Regions from separate parts of the Homo sapiens genome. Here all the other regions are linked to region 4. Evidence: promoter capture Hi-C in 16 types of primary human blood cells and fetal thymus (Javierre and others, 2016). All regions are on one chromosome and are shown on one strand. Each heading gives the region's core, a stretch centred on a gene start or on the middle of the fragment in contact. The rest is flanking DNA. Distances are from core to core; before and after follow the strand shown.

Evidence for each region. The method cuts DNA at HindIII sites, captures the fragments that hold promoters and counts their contacts. A CHiCAGO score of 5 or more calls a contact.
Region 1: a fragment that was not itself captured here is called in contact with the fragment with the promoter of SVOPL in region 4 in 1 of 17 cell types (M2 macrophages); the score reaches 5.6 in M2 macrophages.
Region 2: a fragment that was not itself captured here is called in contact with the fragment with the promoter of SVOPL in region 4 in 1 of 17 cell types (endothelial precursors); the score reaches 5.4 in endothelial precursors.
Region 3: a contact is called between a fragment that was not itself captured here and the fragment with the promoter of SVOPL in region 4, in 7 of 17 cell types (erythroblasts, endothelial precursors, M2 macrophages and 4 more). The highest score is 8.0, in erythroblasts.
Region 5: a fragment that was not itself captured here is called in contact with the fragment with the promoter of SVOPL in region 4 in 1 of 17 cell types (M0 macrophages); the score reaches 5.2 in M0 macrophages.
Region 6: a contact is called between the fragment with the promoter of CREB3L2-AS1 here and the fragment with the promoter of SVOPL in region 4, in 12 of 17 cell types (fetal thymus, naive CD4 T cells, M0 macrophages and 9 more). The highest score is 9.2, in fetal thymus.
Region 7: a contact is called between a fragment that was not itself captured here and the fragment with the promoter of SVOPL in region 4, in 7 of 17 cell types (endothelial precursors, erythroblasts, megakaryocytes and 4 more). The highest score is 8.9, in endothelial precursors.

Annotation. Positions count from the first base shown.
Region 1 is chr7:138,069,484-138,072,480 of GRCh38, forward strand. LOC124901753 (a long non-coding RNA gene) reads left to right here. Exons shown (of 2, transcript XR_007060553.1): 2 at 1,208-2,364. Among named protein-coding and RNA genes, the nearest start is that of AKR1D1, 5.5 kb to the right of the region's middle. The HindIII fragment of the contact is 7,969 bases long and covers 1-2,997 here.
Region 2 is chr7:138,132,568-138,135,649 of GRCh38, forward strand. No RefSeq gene overlaps it. Among named protein-coding and RNA genes, the nearest start is that of MIR4468, 10 kb to the left of the region's middle. RefSeq lists an enhancer at 1-81. The HindIII fragment of the contact is 9,735 bases long and covers 1-3,082 here.
Region 3 is chr7:138,089,143-138,092,240 of GRCh38, forward strand. AKR1D1 (aldo-keto reductase family 1 member D1) reads left to right here. Exons shown (of 9, transcript NM_005989.4): 3 at 2,626-2,742. It also overlaps the pseudogene RN7SKP223. Among named protein-coding and RNA genes, the nearest start is that of AKR1D1, 14 kb to the left of the region's middle. The HindIII fragment of the contact is 6,515 bases long and covers 1-3,098 here.
Region 4 is chr7:138,700,063-138,703,217 of GRCh38, forward strand. SVOPL (SVOP like) reads right to left here and starts at 1,300. Exons shown (of 16, transcript NM_001139456.2): 1 at 1,116-1,300. It also overlaps the pseudogene UQCRFS1P2. The HindIII fragment of the contact is 672 bases long and covers 838-1,509 here.
Region 5 is chr7:138,024,120-138,027,199 of GRCh38, forward strand. It overlaps the pseudogene LOC100128052. Among named protein-coding and RNA genes, the nearest start is that of CREB3L2, 24 kb to the left of the region's middle. The HindIII fragment of the contact is 2,150 bases long and covers 432-2,581 here.
Region 6 is chr7:137,951,724-137,954,946 of GRCh38, forward strand. CREB3L2-AS1 (CREB3L2 antisense RNA 1) reads left to right here and starts at 1,625. Exons shown (of 4, transcript NR_161346.1): 1 at 1,625-1,801. The region is part of intron 1 of CREB3L2 (cAMP responsive element binding protein 3 like 2); the gene reads right to left. The HindIII fragment of the contact is 9,042 bases long and covers 1-3,223 here.
Region 7 is chr7:138,107,673-138,110,985 of GRCh38, forward strand. The region is part of intron 7 of AKR1D1 (aldo-keto reductase family 1 member D1); the gene reads left to right. Among named protein-coding and RNA genes, the nearest start is that of MIR4468, 14 kb to the right of the region's middle. The HindIII fragment of the contact is 4,177 bases long and covers 1-3,313 here.

The DNA of each region.
Region 1 (2,997 bases), core at 43-2,542, 630 kb before region 4:
TCAAATCAATTTTCATCTCTGATACAGTAACAAGCAAACATTTTTCTACCATCAGATCTACAGAGAGAAGAGTATCTAATACTGTGAGCATATTATATACGAAGGTTTCAATTTATTTTCATTTAATTATGACTAGTTTGGATTAGTCATTTTTGTAGTCCCTTTAAATATGTTGTCATTGATCAATGTATCTACCCTGTTATCACTTTATTGGAGGGAGTAGAGTGTAGTGACTAAAAGCATAGGCTCTGGAGTCAGACAGCCTGGCAGTTCTTCCAGTTACTAAGCAATTTTTGACAAAAACTGTTTTGGACCTCAAGACTCTTCCTATAAAACAGGAATAATAATATTACCCACTGCATTCCTTTCTAAGGGCTGCCATAACAAATTACCACAAACTAGGTGGCTTAAAACAAACAAACAAAAATTATTCTAGCACATTTCTCGATGCTAGAAGTTTGAAATGAAGACATCAGCAAGGCCATGCTCCCTCTGAAGTTTCTAAGGAAGAATGCTTCTTTGCCTCTTCCTTTCTTCTAGTGGTTGCCAGCGATCATTGGCATTCTTCGGCTTGTAGATGCATTACTTCAATTTCTGTCTCTGTCATCACATGTCATTCTTCCCTAAGCCTCTATGTCTCTGTTTTCTCATCTTATAAGAACACCAGTCATTGGATTTGGGCTTACTGAAATCCAATAGTAACTTATCTAATTATATCTGCAAAGATCCTATTTCTAAATATAAGGTCACATTCTGAGGTTTCAGATAGACCTGACTTTGGGGGGACACTAAATGATCCAGTATATTCACCACATAAGATTGTTGTGAAAATTAAAGAAGCCATGTAAAGTACATAGTAAATACCAAACTTAATCTTATTATTTCTGTCAATATAATTTTTATGGATTTATGGCCACAAAGAAAGTATAATTCACAAGCAATTTTTTTGTTGAATGAAAATAGGAGCTGTTTTAGGTCAATTTATTTTGAAAATATTAATATATAAAGAGTAACTTGAAACATTTCTGATGAGAAAAGCAATGTAATATTTAGATTCCATCAATTTAGTAAGGATGTATATAATACATTAAAAATTAAGAAACATGTGAGGGTTCTAGTTCCAAATAAGATGGAGTCCCCCACTGAATACAACTCTAAAGCCTGCCTTCTACAATGAGAACATTAACATTCTATGCCATTTAAACAGGACCCAAGGAGATTGAGGCTGCAGTGAGCTGTGACTGCACTACTGCACTCCATCCTGGAAAACAGAGCAAGACCCTGTCTCAAAAGCAAACAAACAATAACAACAAACAAACAAACAAAACCAGGACCCAGGATCTCATAACCTAACATTCAAAAAGTTCTCAATAACCAAAAGACAGCAAAGCCAAGATGTCATAGATGTTGTACATACTTATATGGTGAAAACTTTAAGGCAGCGATTACAAAAGTTTCCCAGGAAACAATCAAGAACACTCATGAAGCCAGTGCAAAAGTAGAGAGTCTAAGGAAAGAAATAAAGCATACTTAAAATAACTAAATGGAAATTTCAGAAATGAAAAATATATCTGACATTTAAAACTCACTGGAGTGGAAAGATGACTAAGCCTAAGAGACCTGTAGGACACCATCAGCCATACAAACGTATACATAATAGCAGTACAAGAAAGAGAGGAGAGAAAAAAATAAAACACTATTTTTTGAAGAAATAATGGCCAAGAAACTTTCCAAATTAGGTGCAAATCATGACACTACACATCCAAGAAGCTCAGTGAACTCCAAGAAGGACACAGCCAGAGATCCACAGAAAGACACATTACTGTCAAATTGTCAAAACCTGAAGACAAAATCTATGTAACAATAATATCATAAAGGAGTAGGCTGATGGAGTTTTTAAAGGATCAAAATGTTTGAATACTATTAAAACTGGGTTAGTATTAATTCAAACTTGATTGTTACAAAGTTAAGATGCTAATCGTAATCCCCAGGGTAACTCCAGCGCTATGGACTGAATAGTGTCCCCCTAGATTTCACAGGCTGAAACTTGAATTCCCAGTGTGATGGTATCTTGAGATGGGGCCTTTGAGAGGTAACTAGGTTTATATCAGGTCATGAGGGTGGGTTCCTCATGACGGGCTTGGTGTCCTTTTAAAAAGAGACCACAGAGCTTGCTTACTCTCTGTTTCTCCTCTTCCCCACCTCCCCAGTCCCCAACACACTGTGAGAACACAGCAAGACAGCCATCAACAAGCCAGGAAGCTCTCTTCCTGGCTCTTAACAGAAACTGAATTGGCTGGCACCTTGATCTTGGACTTCACAGCTTCCAGAACTGTGCAAAATAAATGGCTGTTGTTTAAACCACCCGGTCTATCATATTTTATTATGGCAGCCCAAAATAAGACACCCAGAAAACAATTTAAATATACAAAATAATCCTGCAGGAATTTTAAACACACAAACTGATTCTAAAACATATATCGAAAGTAAAAGAGAAAGAATAGCTAAAATACTTTTGGGCAAGAAAAATAAAGTCTGAAAATTATACTATATGGTTTTAAGGTTTATGATAAAGCTACAAAAATCAAGACAGTGTGGTATCAATGAAAGAAGAGACAAATAGATCAGTGAAGCCTATTTCTATGTGGAGTTCACAGAAATAAAGCAAAAAAAAAATCAATGAAACAAAGTAGAAAGTCATAGACCCACCAATATATGGCCTTTTATTTATTTATTTTATTTTTTTAAATATATGGTTTTAATGTTGAAATATTTATCATATTATAGTTTTTAGAAACTTGGACAATTATCAATAAAATCAGGGCTGGTCTTATGATTTACTAGAGTATATGGCTGCTCGCTTGCCTTTTATTTTTAACAATGGTGCAAAAGAAATTCAGTGAAGAAAGCACAGATTTTTCAACAGATGTAATTGAAACAATAAGCCATCCTTATTCAAAACAAAACAACTAAATCTCTTCAATTATACAAAAATTT
Region 2 (3,082 bases), core at 344-2,843, 570 kb before region 4:
GACATTTAGATTGTTTCTGTATCTTCGCTATCATGAAAAATGCTGCTGCAATGAACATGGGAGTCCAGATATCCACCTTTTTCAAGATCCTGATTGTGGTTCTTTTGGATATACCCAAAAGTGGGATTGCTGCGTCATGTGGTAGTTTTATTTTTAATTTTTTGAGCACCCTTTATACTGTTTCCCACAGTGGCTGCACCATTTCACATTCCCACCAATAGCGTACAAGAGTTCCAGTTTCTCCACATTCTTGCCAATACTTGATATCTTTCATGGTTTTGATAATTGCCATTTATTGCCTTTTTCTGTTGAGTATTTGTATGTCTTCCTTGGAAAAATATCTGTTCAGGTTCTTTGCTCATTTTAAAATCAGGTTGTTTTTCTACTACTGAGTTGTAAGAGTTCCTTATATATTTTGGATATAAACTCCTTATAGGATCTATGGTTTGTGCATATTCTCTCTCATTCTGTGGGCTGACTTTTCGTTTTGCTGATTGTTTCCTTTGCTTTGCAGAAACTTTTTACTTTGATATAATCCTGCCTGCTTATTTTTGCTTTTGTTGCTTGTGCTTTTGGTGTCATTGACAAGACCTCTGTCATAGAGCTTTTCCCCTATATTTTCTTTTAGGAATTTTATGGTTTCAGATCTTGCATTTAAATCTTTAATCAAGTTTGAGTTGATTTTTGTGCATGGTGTAAGATAAGAATCCAATTTCATTTTTTTGTTTCTTTTTGAATGTGGATATCCAATTTTCCCAACATCATTCACTGAAGAGACTATTCTCTCTGCATTGTATATTCTTGGCATCTTTATTGAAGATTACTTGATCATATATGTATTGGTTTATTTATTGGTTTCCTGTTACATCCCATTGGTTTATGTGTGTTTGTTTTTATGCTTGTATCATATTGCTTTAGTTACTATCACTTTGTAATGAAATTTGAAATCAGAACACAAAGCCTCCAGCTTTGTTCTTCTTGATCAAGATTGCTTTAACTATTCAGGGTCTCTTGAGGTGCCATATAAATGTTATGATTTTTTTTCTATTTCCATGAAAAATGACATTGGCATTTTCATAGGAATTGCATTAAATCTATAGATCACTTTCAGTAATATAGACAAGTTTCCAATATTGATTCTTCTGATCCATAAACATGAAATACCTATTTATTTGTGTCTTCTTCAATTTTATTCATTAATTCATTATGTTTCATAGTTTTCAGTATACAGATATTTCACCTTTTTGGTTAAATTTATTTCTAATTATTTTATTCCCGTTGATGCTATTATAAATGTGACTTTTTAAAAAATTTCTTGTTCAGATAGTTTATTGCCAAAGTATAGAAACACAAGTGATTTTTATATGTAGATGCTGTATCCTAAAACTTAACTGAATTCATTTATTAATTCTAACACTTTTGGGTAGAATCTTTAGGTTGTTCTATACATAAAATCTTGTAATCAGCAAACAGAGACATTTTGACTTCTTTTCTGATTTGGATGACTTTTATTTCTTTATGTTGCCCAATTCCTTTGGCTAGGACTTCAGTACTATGTTGAAAAAAAAAGTGGTGAGAGTGAGTGTAATATTGTGATATAATAAAATATATATATACTTGGTCTCTGTCCCTGGTTCCAGGCACAAAGCTGCTAAAATCCTTGAAATCTGCAAAGCGATATGTATTTTTGTATGCTAATGAGATGGCTGATCACTGAGTACTCCTAGATAACCACAGGATAGTTGCCAGGGGTGCCAACCATGTGATTGGAGGGTTGAAACTTTCAGCCACACCCCCCACCTCTAGGGAGGGGAGAGGGGTTGAAGGCTGATTTGGTCATCAAAGGCCAATCATACCTACCTAATGAAGTCTCCATTAAAAACCTAAAGATGGCTGGGTGCAGTGGTTCATGCCTGTAATCCCAGCACTTTGGGAGGCTGAGGCAGGCAGATCACCTAAGGTCAGGAGTTTAAGACCAGCCTGGCCAACATGGTGAAACCCCATCTCTACTAAAAATACAAAAATTAGCTGGGCATTGTGGTGCGTGCCTGTAGTCCCAGCTACTTGGGAGGCTGAGGCAGCAGAATTGCTTGTACCCAAGAGGCAGAGGTTGCAGTGAGCTGAGATCACACTGCAGCACTCCAGCCTGGGCAACAGAGAAGGAACTCTGTCTAAAAACAACAACAACAATAACAACAACAACAAAAACCTAAAGAGACAGGTTTTGGAGAGCTTTCTGGTTGGTGAACACATTTACATACTGGAAGGGTAGTGTACCCCAACTCCATAGGGATGAAAGCTCCTATGCTCCGGACCCTTCCAGACTCCACCCTATGTATCTCTTCATCTGGCTGTTCATTTGTATTCTTTAAAATATCCTTTGTAATAAATAGGTAGATGTAAGTAAAGTATTTCCCTGAGTTTTGTGAGCCACTCTAGCAAATTAATAGAACCCAAGGAGGGGGTCTTGAGAACCCCAATTTAGAGCTGACCGGTCAGAAGCACAGGTCACAACCTGAGGCTTACCATTGACATCTGAAATGGGGGCAGTCTCAAGGAGCTGAGTCCTTAACCTGTGGGATCTGACTCTATCTCTAGGTAGATGGTATCAGAATTGAGTTAAGTTGTAGGACACCCAGTTGGTGTCTGCTGGAGAATGGCTTGGAAGTCTGGTGAAGAGCCCCTACACATTTTGCATTAGAAGTGTTGTGCTGAGGGGTATGTGGGATTAGGAAAAACACTTGGTGTTTCCCATTTCTTAATAGTGGACATCCTTGTCTTGTTCCCAATCTTAGATAAAAGATATTCATCTTTTCACCATTGCGTATGATGTTAGCTGTGGGCTGGTAATATATGGACTTTATTGTGCTAAGGAACATTCCTTTTATAACTAATTTGTTCAGAGTTTTAATCATTAAAGGATGCTGAATTTTGTCAAATGCTTTTTATGCATCTATTGACATGATTTTTGTCCTTCACTTTGTTAATACAATGTATAACATTTACTGATTTGCATATGTTGAGCCATCTTTGCATCCCAGGCATAAATCCAAGTTGATCATGGTGAGTGATCCTTTTAATA
Region 3 (3,098 bases), core at 526-3,025, 610 kb before region 4:
TTCAAGACCAACCTGGGTAACATGGCAAAACCTTGTCTCTACAAAAAAAAATACAAAAATTAGCCAGGCATGGTAACTTGCACCTGTAGTCCCAGATACTTGGGAGGCTGAGGCAGGAGGATGGCTTGAGCCAGGGAGGTCAAAGCTGCAATGAGTCATGTTCATATCACTGCACTCCAACCTGAGTGACACAGCGAGACCCTCTCTCAAAAAAAAAAAAGCATTTGAGCAAATGTAATTAACTCAGACATGGTATTCAGATTTTGTTTAATAAAAGCAAACAAACGTAAATTAAAAAAAAAAAAAAACAAGCTCATAAGGTCACCAATCCAAAAGCCAGCTATGTAGGCTTCCTGGGCAGGCACATTATGCAAGCCTTTTGCTTAATGACTCATATTATAGGAGTCATTTCTTACTATGATAGAGGCTAAAGTTAGCATACAAGGAAAAGGTGGTCAAAACATGCTTTAAATTGTCCTTTAACTTTAATCCTTTAAATTGTCCAAAAAGTACAGTTGTGAATAGAAAGCAATATTTATACGTATACAATGTCAATATGGGCTGTATGTAATAAAGCATACTTGGGCGAAATATTGGTGTTTACTTACGTAAACAGAAACAGTGTGTGCAGCTGAGTTCATGTAATGTGCCATTGCTATTGCCTCATCAGGACTGTCTTCACTGCAGCTCAGCAGCACCTGAGAGGCAATGTGGGGGTGATTAAGAGCCTAGACTGGTGCAAGGTTGCCCAGGTCAGAGGCCCAGATCTGTCACTATTGGCTGAGTTGCCTAGCATTTCTGGACCTCAATTTTTTTTCTCTGTAAAATGGGGATAATAATGTCAACTATTTCATAAAGTTGTTATGAGTTCACATTTACAAAGCACTCACACCGAACCTGGCACAAAGCTAATACTATGTATGTTTGTTGAATAAAAGTAAATTAAAATATCATCAGCCTATGCCCAGGAATGAAAAAGAAAGTAAAATAAATATCAAACAGAATTTCCACTTAGATGGGATTGCAATAGGAACACCAAAGAGACCCAGAGTAGCAATCAAAACACACGTAACACATTTTTCCACTACTCTCTTCATGTTAAATTTTCTCTGTGTTTTTAAGGCAAGAAAAAAATCATTGTCCAACAGAGGAAAAAATCAGATATTACCAATTTTGCTTACCCTTTCTTGTGACCAAAAAAAGTATGATTCAGGCCGGGTGCAGTGGCTCAAGCCTGTAATCCCAGCACTTTGGAAGGCAGAGGAGGAAGGATCACTTGAGGTCAGAAGTTCGAGACCAGACTGGCCAACATGGTGAAACCCCATCTCTACTAAAAATACAAAAATTAGCCAGGCGTGGTAGCAGGTGCCTGTAATCCCAGCTACTTGGGAGGCTGAGGCAGCAGAATCGCTTGAACCCGGGAGGCAGAGGTTGCACTAAGCCAAGATCAAGCCACTGCGCTCCAGCCTCAGCAACACAGCAAGACCCCGTCTCAAAAAAAAAAAAAAAAGAAAAAAGAAAAGTATGATTCTAAACTTATATCCCCCCAAAAAAATCTGTGAGCAAAACTGATATTCCAAAAGATGTACTAATTTGTCCTGTGGGTATAAGCAACCTTGGCACCGTATGTCTCAGACACTTAAGGGTACACATGCTCCAGTAGGATCAACCAAACCTTGATCCTTCATTATGTAATGCCTTAGCGAAAGAGTAATTTAATTGCTCTGGGGTCTAAGTAGGACCAAATAAGAACAAAAGATCAGTGAAAGCAAATCTAAATCTATGCACTAATTTAAAATTTCACCAGGCTTTCACACCACCTGTCACAATGTGAAGGACCCAGTGAAGCCACACGCATAACCATATTCCTTGCTCATTTTATCAGAGTGGCATGACAATAAAGTATCACGCTAGGTCAGGACATCTAGAACATTGTGTAACCCTAGTTATACAATGAGGAAAAATGCAAGCACTAAGCATCAGGAAATTCACCCGGAAATGGGGAAGACTGCCATCAAATTAGGTACTCTGTGGTCAAGGAGGATCTGTAAGTCTCTTGTGGTAGATTTGCATAAAATTATGTCTGGAGATGTGAGGGTGATCTGGCTGTAACATATGTCACCCCATTAGTCACCAGGGCTAATTCAGCTGATCTGGCTGTCTAGGCAATTGTACCTCTTGAAGCTGCACTCTCAGTGGAAGAGGACGGCTTTCCCTGATGAAGGAGGAGGGTTTTTAGGTCAAGTGTATGTGAGTAGCTGCACTCCCCTACTAGAACCTCCAAACAAGCTCTCAAGCTAGGCTCTGAGTGTCAAGAGTTTTATCAGCTCATCCTATACTCAGATGACACTGCATCATAAACATATTTTTGTGAAATGAAATGTGTGAATAAAATGTGTACAAGCGGCTAGGCACGGTGGCTGATGCTTATAATCCCAGCACTTTGGGAGGCTGAAGTGGGCAGATCGCTTGAGCCCAGGAGTTAAAGACCAGCCTGGGCAACATAGTGAGACCCCCCATCTCAAAAAAAAAAAATGTGTACGAGTGTTTTACAAAGAAAAAGGGGCTGCCTTATCGTAAAAAGCGTGTAGACATTAGTTAATTCTCCCTCTTTGATTCTTTCAGCTATGGGCTACAAATCATGTCCCAGAGATGGTCCGCCCAACCCTGGAGAGGACACTCAGGGTCCTCCAGCTAGATTATGTGGATCTTTACATCATTGAAGTACCCATGGCCTTTAAGGTGAGTTCAGATGCCCAAAGGTCAGGTCTCTGCACCCTGGCAACCATGAGCCAATAGCTATGTGCATGAAGCTCTGCACCATGAGCCAATAGCTATGTGCATGAAGCTCTGCACCATGAGCCAATAGCTATGTGCATGAAGCTCTGCACCATGAGCCAATAGCTATGTGCATGAAGCTAGCGTATTACTTGGCACCACAGAATATTGTGGTGTTTTGTTACCACAGATCAGAGAGTACTGACCTAGTCTGACAAATACCCGAGAAGATTATGTTAGCAGACTCAGGCTTGGTTTCCAAGTTTCTTGATTTTTTAATTCAATGCAATTTCTATTATACCATGTTTTTACAACTATAG
Region 4 (3,155 bases), core at 50-2,549:
GTTCACATCTGTACCTTGGAAAGGGGCTTACTCTCCAAGTCATTAAAAGGACACTCAAACACAAACTCAAAGTTAGTTAGCATATATATGAAATGTATTTTCTTGGTAGTCTCTAGAGTTTCAGCCAAAAGCTACATGAAGAAAGAAGAGAACAACATGTTTGAGAGATGGAGATGAGGAACATTATTGAGAGATAGAGCTTGCAATCTTAACTCAGCAATGGAATGCTGGAAAGGCTGAATTGACATACTCTGTTCTTTGGTTCCGTATGTCTTTTTTTTTTTTTTTTTTTTTGAGACAGAGTCTTACTCTGTTGCCCAGGCTGGAGTGCCGTGGTGTGATCTTGGCTCACTGCAACCTCTGCCTCCCGGGTTCAAGCGATTCTTCTGCCTCAGCCTCCTGAGTACCTGGGATTACAGGCACCCACCACCATGCATGGCTAATTTTTTTGTATTTTTAGTAGAGACGGGGTTTCACCATCTTGGTCAGGCTGGTCTTGAACTCCTGACCTTGTGATCCACCCACCTCAGCCTCCCAAAGTGCTGGGATTACAGGCGTGAGCCACCGCACCCGGCTGGTTTCCTGTGTCATTCTAAATCCTTTCTAACCCAGTAAGAGGATGGATGGATGGATGGATGGATGGATGGATGGATGGCAGATGGATGATCAGTTAGACCAACTCAGGAAAATAGGGAATAACATGGAAAAGAATGCTTCGCGTCCCTCACTATAAGTTCCTAAAAAGCTACAATGGGAAAGTAATCCATGACCTACCTTCACAAAACCTGGTGAGAAACTGATAGATTGGGGATTTTCCCTGAACTCAGATGGAGTTCAAGCTTCATTAAAACAAATTCTAAAGGACTGATTGACATTTTATTCTATTGTATTTTGTTATACTGATTGTTTTTTAACCAGAAATAATTGGGCCACAGTAGATCTTTTTTAAACTGAGTTTTGTGTGTGATGTGTGATGTAATTTGTTTTGCAATATCCAAGGAAATTTTCATGCTCCATTTGCCTTCGGCCACAAACTAACAGTCAATGCCCCACCCCACCCTCTACAGCAGCAGGAAAAAATAAGTCCAGATCAATGTTGCCCACAAATTTCTCACCTCTGTATATTCCTTGGACAGTCTTCCAATTTCAGGCTCTTTTGCTCCCCTCACCGTGGCCAAGTCTTAGACGGAAATTGGAGCACAGATGGCTTCTCAGGGGTGGCCAGACTTGTGTTCCCAAGACGCCTGGCTCCCTGGTCTTATCCTCTCCTTTCAGGTCGGGTCTCAGATCAGGATTCTTTAAGGGCCAACTTCGCATTCTGGGCAAGTGAATGACACCTAGGGCACACCCTCTTCTCAGCAGCCTGCACTTGATCTCCTTTTAAAGGGGAAATTACATTTCTTGTTAAGACTGAAAGAGGCTGCCGAACTTTGGAGGAAATTACTATGTTGTTCTCAGGACAGCTGGAAGAATTTCTGAAAGAGAAGACCTAGGCAAGGGGCAGAGGGAAGCTTTGCCCTTGCAAACATTTGCTCACAGCCATTGCTTAGAATTAAGGAGCAGGTTCATGCCCATCCTGTCAGCCATATCCTGCAGGGTGGCAGGCATGCTGTAGCCCCTGGTATAGGCCATGGTGCCTGCCACCCTGAAGCTGCCTGTGCTGTACAAGAGCAGCCTTTGCTATGCCAGGAGTCACTGAGTGGCCAGGCCATGAGCCTGTCTTGGGTCAACTCTGTGGGCCTCAATGTCCCTGCTTCTGTTCGTTATTCCCATACAGACATCAATGTGCCTGACTTCCCTGATTACTGTTGCATTGAGATTTTTGATGGGACAAAGTCTTCAAAAGAGGATGGCGAGGCTAGGAAAGGGTTCTCCTATTTGGTAACTGCAACAACTGCTGTGGGTGTCACATATGCTGCCAAGAATGTCATCTCCCAGTTTGTTTCCAGCATCAGTGCTTCTGCTGATGAGTCGGCCGTGTCGAAAATTGCAATCAAGTTATTTGATATTCCAGAAGGCAAGAACATGGCTTTCAAATGGAGAGGCAAATCCCTGTTTGTATGCCACAGAACCAAGAAGGAAATTGACCAAGAACCTGCAGTTGAAGAGTCCCAGCTGAGGGCCCATAGCATGATTTAAGGGCCAGGCACAGTGGCTCATGCCTGTAATTCCAGCACTTTGGAAGGCCGAGGTGGGCAGATCACTTGAGGTCAGGAGCTCAAGACCAGCCTGGCCAACATGGCGAAACCCCATCTCTACTAAAAATACAAAATTAGCCAGGCGTGGTGGCATGTGCCTGTAATCCCAGCTACTCGGGAGGCTGAGGCAGGAAAATCACTTGAACCTGGGAGGCAGAGGTTGCAGTGAGCCGAGATTGCACCATTGCACTCCAGCCTGGGCAACACAGTGAGAATCTGTCTCAAAAAAAAAAAAAAAAAAGAAGAAGAAGAAGAAGTAAAGGATGGGCCGGGAGTGGTGGCTCACACCTGTAATCCAAGCACTTTGGGAGGCCAAGGCGGGTGAATCACTTGAGGTCAGGAGTTCAAGACCAGCCTGGCAAACATGGTGAAACTCCGTCTCTACTAAAAATACAAAAATTAGTCAGGCGTGGTGGTCCATGCCTGTAATCCCAGCTACTCGGGAGAATGAGGCAGGAGAAGTGCTTGAACCTGGGAGGCGGAGGTTGCAGTGAGCCAAGATCGCGCCACTGCACACTCCAGCCTGGGAGAGAGAGTGAGACTCTGTCTGAAAAAAAAAAAAAAAAGATAAAAAAGGAGTAAAGAATGAGTGCAATGCCTATCAGGGTAACCCATTCGAGTTTCTTTACTAGGCGTTTGCATTCATCCTGTTGTACACCTATTGCAAATGAAGATTTTGGTGGTGATTACTGCCCTTGCTGGGGGTCACACAGATGCATCTGGGAGGATCTGGAAGGGGCCTGCCCCTCTTGAGCTTGGAGCTCCCTCATATGGGTTCACCAGTGAGGACACAGTCATTGTTGGTTAGAGACTGGGACTCAAGTTGTAGGCTCCTTTCAGTCTTTGCGTCACTGTAGAAGAGTTATTTGAGAGCAAGCCTTCTGAACTTCAAGTTGCTTGATTTGAAATATTTAAGAAGTGATAATGTATTTGCAAACATTACTGTGAAGTAAATTG
Region 5 (3,080 bases), core at 257-2,756, 680 kb before region 4:
TTCTGCTGATCATGTTTCCATGCTTGTACTGCAATTCAAAGACCCATTGGAACAAGACAATACATGGCTTGATATCCAACACACTGAAGCTCTTCATGCAGATGAACCAAAAGCTATTTAATGACTGTACCTAACTGTTCAAAGCAGAGAAACTGAAAGAGAAGCTAAAAATGAAAGAACAGGAAGAAGCATTGGTTAAAATAGAAAATCTAACCAAAGCCAATCACCAGGTACTAAAAAAGAGAGTAACATGAAAATGTCCAGGGTGTTACTTGAATGTTTTCATAAGATAGGAATATATCTTCATCCTGAGAAGGAGGGATATCATTGGCTAAATAAATGACATATAGTGACCTGGGATTCTATTTTGTAATAGTAAGTGTTTAAACCTTTGATATTTGACAAACTTTCCAAAGTCAACTTCTAAATTAAGCTTTTTCTTTGATCTGGCTAACTCTTTTAGATATTAGGTACCCTAAAGTCCAAAAGAGACATATTTGGCTTATTTGGCATACTAAAACCATACAAAAAATATTGCCAAATATAAAATGGTGTTTAAACTTTCTTTGGGTCATATTCATATAAATATATTATTAGCATGTGTTCCAAAATTGTATAGGATTCCCATAATTCTGATATGTCCTATAATTCTGATATGTCTATATATTATCAGTAACAATTATAATTGTTATGTTAAATTGTTTTGTGCCATAAGGTGATCAGACTTTAACCACAGCTGTTCTGAGACTTTAGCCCCTCACTCGGCCTGGGCAGCCCCTCCCCTGACCCTGCCACGAGCAACCCCCTTGCTCCAGTACTCTTCAGGCCCCGGTGGCCTGGTGTTCATTTTGCAGGCCTGAGTGGCGGTGAGCAGAGTTATTTGTTAGGCTAGGGGAGAGAGGTGGCAATCCCCAAAGGAAAGGGAGCCTCAAACCCCTCTGTATGCAGTTGCCAATTGTTATTTCACTCTGATTCTTTTCATAGGCAGTTTTATAATCAGCTATAGGACTCTGAGAGTTGCCCTGGAATTTAAGTTTCTGATAACTTTGAAAATTGTGACATTAGAATAGAGGGAAAAACTTCCAAGACTGCCATAGAGAGTTAATGTGTTCATAAATGTCAAGCAGGACAGGAGTTAATTACATAGACTGAACTAATGGAAGACCAAAATAGTCTTTTTACAACTTTTTGTTTGAAACATTGCTAATTCTTTTGTTTCACAGAGTTCAGAAAACCTTTTGTCTTTTGTACTGTTTGCAGCTTTTAGCAACTGGGTAAATTACATTCTTGAGAGTAAAATTTAGAGCGTATTTCTTTCTGTCTACCTGGTTTCCTCAGAATTTGAAAACTATTTGTAAGTGTACTTAATTTATGGCAGTATAGTTGTTTGCACAAGTTCAATAAGAATCTTTTTTCTTTTGTAACAAGACACCATTGGAGACCCTGGTGATTTTACCAAGGCTTTGACTAGAGTGGCATACTTTCAGGTATAAACAGACTGCTTTAAGTAATCACAGTTGACTTATAGAGCCAATAAAAGCCCCTTGGGAAAACTGGCCTCATACCTTGTCTACACAGTCCTTGTATAGAGTTCCTCACCTGTGGTAAGTAAAGAATGTCACCTGACAGGTCCAGGAGCCCCAAATTACCTTGGGGCCTTAAGGAGAGGAATTCCCCCAACTCATATAAGTATTTGCAGGTACAGATAAATCCATGACTGGGCTCAAGTCTTTAAAAATCTAATCTGAGATTCCTTATGGAATAAAGGAATCAAACACTACCAGCAAAGTCAATTTTAGAAAGAGTCTATGTGGCAAGTAATAATTCTTGCTATACTTTATGCAAATATTCAGGCCACAGATGATAAGACTGAAATTTATTATGCAAATAAATTGGTTCTACAATGACTTGTCTTTAGTAAAAATAACTAGAGAGAAAAAAATATGTTTTAGAAAAAAAACATAGCACACCTGTTGTTAGAGTCTAGTTGTGTTCACTGTTTGTTTGTGAGTTTTTATTTTCTGCAATTTGGACTGAATCCTGAATTCCATCCAGGCTTCAAGTCCCAAATTATTGCTTGAAAATTTTTCTGACTTGGAATCAATGAAATTACTACTACATTATTCCTTGTAATATAGATGAGAAAGACATGTCAGACTACCACAGCCTTCCTCTTCTGTAACTAAAGATGCTTTGAGTCTAACATCTGAATAAATTGTGCTCAGTGTTAACCTTTGTTTTTCTTCTGTCTCCATAGAAATGACTCTTATTAATAATCTGTTTGCCTTTATCACATGTAGAGGCCTAGCCCACCTGCAATGCCACCTCCTGGATGGGACACAGATATTTAACTAAACTGATCCATTCTCAAGAACTAGACAGTGCTTATGACAATGTTCATGAGTATTCATAGCTCTTCCTGTAACCTGTTAAATACATATTTAGCCAACCTGTCATTATATCCAGTTATGATGGGCAGTGGACAACCTGTATGATAATTAAGACTAACTGCTGTGTATACATCCCAGTAAATTTGGGAAATGTCTCAGATAGCCCTGCAAGATACATACCAACAAATCAAAGCTTTGTCTGACTCCACATTGTCACTAGACCAGTGATTACTGTCCTGACTCAGGTCAGTACCATCCTGGTAGCAAAAGCTGGCTGTAACATTCGCCCTGATTTCAAGGATAGGCATATCCCTCTGTTGTGGAGTTTACTGCTGCTGCACCCTCCATATGGGAATGCGAGACGGGCTTTCCCCAGAGACTTTCCGGAACTTGCACCATAATGGTCCAACGAATATCATCTGTAAAGTCCAGGTATTCATGAATATTTCCAAATCCAAACAGATCAATTCCATACCAATACCCAATAACTACACTGTCTTTCAGCAGGAAGTAGCCAGAATAAATACAGTACCCCAATTTCACAGAGATGGAAGGGAACTTGGTAGTGGGGAATTGTAACCAAGTACTCCCATTTTCCTAAGAAATAGTTTATTTGTTTTCTTTCTCTCCTTTTCTTTTTCCTCCTTTCCCCACTTTTTACTTAGTCCTTTAGAAATGCAGATTTCTAAA
Region 6 (3,223 bases), core at 375-2,874, 750 kb before region 4:
TGTAACCCCTGCACTCTGGGAGGTGAGGCAGAAGGACTGCTTGAACCCAGGAGTTCGAGACGAGACCAGTCTGGGCAACATAGGGAGACTCTGTCTCTACCAAAAAAAATGTTTTAATTAGCTGGGCGTGGTGGTGCACAGCTGCAGTCCCAGCTACTTAGGAGGCTGAGGTGGGAGGATCGCTTAAGCCCAGGAGGTGGAGGCTCTAGTGAGTCAGGATCACGCCACTGCACTATAACCTGGGTGACAGAGTGAGACCTAGTCTTCAAGAAATATACAAAATAGACAATAGGGCTGGTAGGATAGTGGGAACATAAGAGTTTTTCTTTTCTTATTTCTCTAACTTTGGTAATATGTTATTTTCGTAATTTAAAAATAAAATTTCAAATGCAAATTTACTCCCATCCATTAATATCTCTGAGAAAAATCCACAAGTCCTTATTGTCAAGTATATGACTAATACCCTGTTCAGCAGCCCTACAAAAAGGTAATTAAAACCATCTAGAGGCCTGGTGAGGTTTGATTTACTTTTCTGGGAAACTTGGAAAAGATCTTCCTAGTATGGACCTGATTTATCATCTGACTTTGAAGGTTCTCCTTGTGTTTGATTTCTATTAACCATCTCTTCCACATACTCAGCCTCCTTCCCAACTTCCCCATGGCTGAGAGGATATCCCCGCCCAGCCCTCAGGCTCTCAGCCTTTCAACTCAAATGTCACCTTAGAGAAACAGTGTCCATGACCCCTACGGTAGCCACAGGTCCCATTTTGTCATCTTCACTGCATTTGCCAGTCTGTGAAATTAGCTTACTGATTTATCTGTTCCAGTTTTTATGATCTGGCCCCTGCTTTCCCGCCTTTGCACTAGAATATACAGGGACTGTCTGTCTTGCTCAGTGTTTGACAGCCACCCTACCTACCCCACCCCAACTCTACCACACCTAGAAGGAAGTGCTCAGTAAGTATTTGCTGACTTACTAACTCTTAAGTTTTTCCTGATTCCTCTTTCTCCTTTGACCCCAAATCCAGATATAATCACTTATTTACCTATCTATCCTACTCCAGGAGGAGTTTAAGAATAATTGTTTTTGTTTTTGTTTTTTTTAGACGGGGTCTCTCTCTCTCACTCTTGTCAACTAGGCTGGAGTGCAGTGGCGTGATCTTGGCTCACTACAACCTCCGCCTCCCGGGTTCCAGCGATTCTCCTGCCTCAGCCTCTAACGTAGCTGGATTACAGGCGCCTGCCACCACGCCTGGATAATTTTTGTATTTTTCGTAGAGACAGGGTTTCACCATGTTGGCCAGGCTGGTCTCGAACTCCTGACCTCAAGTGATCTGCCTGCCTCGGCCTCCCAAAGTATTGGGATGAAAGGCATGAGCCGCTGTGCCCAGCCAGTTTAAGAATATTTCAATCACTTAGTAAGACCTTTTAATGTAAACTCCTTGATGTCTCTTGACTTCATCCTGATTTATTTCCTGGGAAACAAGAGAGCTCAGGGTTAGACAGTTTGTTCCCTCTAAGTCACTGTAGTTTATGTTAAGTGGGATTAGCTCCCGGTGGTGTTTCACTGAAAACCTGCTTACCGCTTAGTTGATTAACTGCTACTCCACATAACACATTCCTTCCTTATGACCAAATTACTGCCAGAGCCTTCTAACTTCTCTGCACCCACTCCAGTCTAGCTGAGGCCTGAGGAATAGATGGATAAATAACAGTATCTGAGACCTGCTGTTGGTGTATGTTAAATGTTCTTTAAAAAGCGTCAACCATCCCCAACACACGACTCTCCTGAAAGGGAAAGGTATGCGGGTTTGCAGAGGAGGGGAGAGTTGGGTGGGTGATGACGGTCTCAGAATGTGACTCTAGAGAAATCATTTCATCTCTGTTGGAAAGTCCTTGTTTCACTTGCATTGTGTTTTAAGGCTGGGAAGGGGTAGACACTGAGCTCTTTCTAATGCCAAGCCTTCATCAGAAAGCAGCTGTAATATAGAAAAAATGCTTTGCCTAATCCTGTTTTCATGATGGTTTCTAGGCAACCGCTTGATGCAAACTAGTTTGTAAACAGCTGGCAGCTAGATAACCAAGAGAAAAAGGGGCACTTAAAACAGACGGTCAAACAAAGATCTGCAGAAGGGAAAGGCATCATCATGGGTTTTTCACACAGCCCAGTAAGATCACAAGGTCCTGTAACCTCTCCAGGAGGGAAAAGCAGCAGGGGTGTGTGAGCTGTAAACCTGGAAGAATAAACAGCACTCTCCTGATGAATCACAGGGAAAGAGAAATTCTTCATGTCATTCTTCACGGAGGAGACAAGATCAAAATCTTGAGAGGCTACCTCTCTGCATGGGTTTCTGTCTGGTATTCTGAAGTTCCACAAACATAAGTAGAGTCCTGCCCTTTGACCTTGAGATACAGGTTGTACCTGTCCTGTCTACGCATGAGGGATAACTAAAATGACAACTGAAATTGTGAAATGACCCACAGCATTTAATGATCACCGAGAACAAAAGTGTAGGATCTTAGTGCTTGTTTACATTTGGCTTGAATTGTGTATTATTTTTCCTGAAAAAGAAAGACTAGTAATCCTAGGGACATAATCCACAGCTTACAAATACTCTTGCTCTTGCAGGTGGTGACAGCAGATAGCTACCCAGAAGTAGGGGTGGACCCAGGCAGGGGGCAGGGGGCTAGGGATCCTCTCAGAGGTTCCTGTTTGCTCCCTGTTCTAACTATAATGGCCACGGCTTTCTATTTTCAGAAAACTTTTAGCAAAAAGGAAAGAACCACAAAGAAATCATCAGGAGCACTGCAGGCAGCACACATTTAAGCTCTATAAAGGCAGCTTATGCTTGCGTCCAAACTACCCTAGGAGCACTCCTATTTTTTAAAATGAATAACTTTGTGTTGCCAAACTCCCCAGGTCCACCACATGTAAAGTTTATCTGTAACAGCAGCCTAAAGAGTTTGGAATGCTCATGGTATTGTCTGGCCATGAGAGAGGAGGTAAGAGGAGAAGAGGAAGGCATGGAGGCTAGAAAGTAGGAAGACCAGCTGCCCCAGTTGCCTCAGACTTTTCTGGTTGTAAAGTTCCACATCCTGGGATATCTCTCAGTCCCACAGAAGTCGGAACAACTGCCCAACCTACAAAGGAATAGAAAGAAGACTACAAACGTTGCCTAAGCACAAGTGTAATTAGTCACTCAAGACTCCCAGTGACTGAGAA
Region 7 (3,313 bases), core at 711-3,210, 590 kb before region 4:
CACTCTCATATTTTATTTTATACCAGCCCCTTGACCCATGTAGCCCATATCTAGGTTTAATTTTCATTCAATTTGAGACAATTGCTAGTACTTCAGAGATTGCTTTGCTACTTGTACACTATCCAGATCTCTTATATTTTCTCTTTCCTTATCTACTTTTTATTTTTTGTTTTAAATTTTTTTTTTGTTTGTTTAGAGATAGGGTCTTGCTATATTGCCCAGGCTAGTCTGGAACTCCTGTCTTCAAGCGATCCTTCCACCTTGACCTCCCAAAGTTCTGGGATTACAGGCGTGAGCCACTGTACCCAGCCTCTTCCCTTATCTATTGACCCTTGACACTACCTACTCACTTCTCTACCAGCACAACAGAAATTGAGTGAATAAAATTTGGAATTCATAATAGTCAACTTTCCACCTTCTTAATGGCTCTGGTAAAAGTTGAGGACAAATTTGAAAATTATTGAAGAGGACCATTTAGACTTCATGAATGCTAATTGCCTTTACTTCCCTCTATAAGTAATCTATGACTTACGTTGTAACTTCCAAGTGAAGAAAGAACTAGACAAAGGGGTAATTCATTTATTCCGCTACTACTAAAGACTAAACTGCTAGGTAAACACAACCATAGAAAAGTGCCATACAAAATTAATTAATTACCCATTAGCTAATTTACATTTCAAAAGTAAATTGCCTGTTTAGCCCTACTCATAATTAAAGATAAATAAAAAGTAAGATACTAGTTGTCCCTTCATATCAGAAAATAATCAAAATACTTGGTAATATTTGGGGAAACAGGCGCTTTGACACACTATTGTTAGAAACATTAATTTGTATGAGATATGGAAGAGTAGGTTAAATTATTTCATGTCCATCAAAATTCAAATGTACATGTTACATGATTTATTTATATGTGGAACCTAAAAAAGTTAATCACATAAAAGTAAGGAGTAGAATAGTGGTTACCGGAGGCTGAGATTATTGAAGGGAGGGTGCTATGAGGAGATGTTGGTCAAAAAAGTTGTGATTACAGTTAGAAGGAACAAATGTCAAGAGATCTATTGTACAAAAAGGTGTCTATAGTTGATGATGATATAGTGTATTCTTGAAAAACATAAAGAGAGTGCATCTTATGTGCTCTTACCACAAAAATGATAACTATATGAGGTAATGCATTTGTTAATTAGCTAGATTTAACCACTCCACAATTTATATGTATGTCAAAACATCATGTTGTATATGATAAAAACATACAATGTTATCTGTCAAATTAAATAAATTCAAATACACTTATCCATTGACTCAGCAGTCTTACCCTATAGATGTATTTGCACATATATACATGGGTGCACACACACAGACAGATGTTTATTATAGAATTCTTTGTAATTTTTTAAAAACTCAAAACAATCTTCAACAGGATTTTATAAAACAAGCTATGACATATTTGTACACTGAAATATCATATAGCCATTTAAAAAATACAAGTACTGACATAGGAAGATAGCCACAATATTAGACAATTACATCTTCAGAGCTTTTTTGCTACATGATAGAATGCAACTCAAACTTTAGCAAAAAATAAAAGATAATTTATTGGCTTGCATAACTGGAAAGTCCATGAGTAGATCAGAAATGGCTAGACACAGGTACTCAAATGATTTATAAAGAGATTTAGTCCTCTCTCTCTCTCCCTCCTTTCTCTCCACCCACATGGTGGCACAGACAATTCCTAACAGCTCCAGGATAATCAATTACTCATACTCAGTGAAGAGTGAAGATGATCAGAAACAAAGTCTTCTATCAGGGTCTCTATCAATCCCTGATTAGCTCCTGAAGGTCACCCTCATATTACCCACTGTGGCCACTGAGTAGGATACCCTGACCCCAGGGCTATATCCCTATTCCTGTGCTGAAGAAGTTAACAGACAGCTCCACTAGAAGGGGGAAGGAAAGTTCGTAAAAAGAAAAAAGGCGAAAAGATGCTGAATAGTTACATCAACTCCTGACAATAACATTTGCCAAAATGCCTCATCCTAAAAAGTGGTTGACACTCTTTTCCACAATCTTAGAAAGAGATCAACTGCATTACTAATGTGTAGGCTCATTGAAGATTAAAACACATTTTGATGGACTTTTTGAGGACTGAAAATTTTGCTGTTCAAAAATTATAGGAGTGTTACAAGTGACCTTTGCGATGGAAAGCATTTGGACTTTATAGCATCTAGCAAATCGCAATTTTGTACCAGAGAAAATGCCACTCTCCTTGAAATTTTCATTGTAACTAATTATGTTATATTCCATATGTTTCCATAGCCTTGATAATAAAAGAATGGAACTCAGAGGTCACATATTCCAAGAAAAAAACGGATACAGATTTAGAAGGAAAATGAGAATGAAAATCACAGCCAATTCTCACTCTTTAGGGAATAGACTCACCCAATAACCATGAATTTTGCTGGGTATGAAAGCAAGGAGCAACAAAATAATAAATTATGCTCTCTTAGAATGAAGGTAAAATAAACTGTTAGAAATATTTTAAAAGAATGGCAAAGATCAATAAAGCATAAAGAATAAAGGGAAAAATAAATATTTTGATGAAAAAAGAAAAGCAAAAGAAAATAAAAACTATGTAGTAAAAAGTTAAGACTGGGCACAGTGGTTCACACCTGTAATCCCAGCACTTTGGGAGGCCGAGGCAGGAAGATTGCTTGAGACCAGGAGTTTGAGAGCAGCCTGGGCAACAAAGCGAGATCCCATTGCTTTAAAATTAAAAAAAGTTAAGTTAAATCATCAGTTTAGGCTGGGTGCGGTGGCTCACTCCTCTAATCCCAGCACCTTGGGAGGCTGAGGCAGGTGGATCACCTGAGGTCTGGAGTTTGAGACCATCTTGGCCAACATGGCAAAACCCCATCTCTACTAAAAATACAAAAATTAGCCGGGCATGGTCATGGGCGCCTGTAATCCCAGCTGCTCAGGAGGCTGAGGCAGGAGAATCGCTTGAACTAGGGATGCGGAGTTTGCAGTGAGCTGAGATCATACCATAGCACTCCAGCCTGGATGACAAGAGTGAAACTTTGTCTCAAAACAAATAAACAAAAAACCATGAGTTTAAAAACTAGATAAAATTAAAGGTAAACATGAAGAAAGCTAATACGGAGCCAGGATATTTTAAAAGTTAAAATTTTAAAAAAAAGAAATTATACCAGGTGTGGTCCAGCTTTGTTGCCATCATCCACTGGCCTCCATTCTTTGAAGATGTTATCTCTGGGCTCACTTTCACTTTCTCCAACACTCTTCCTCTCATAATTCTTAG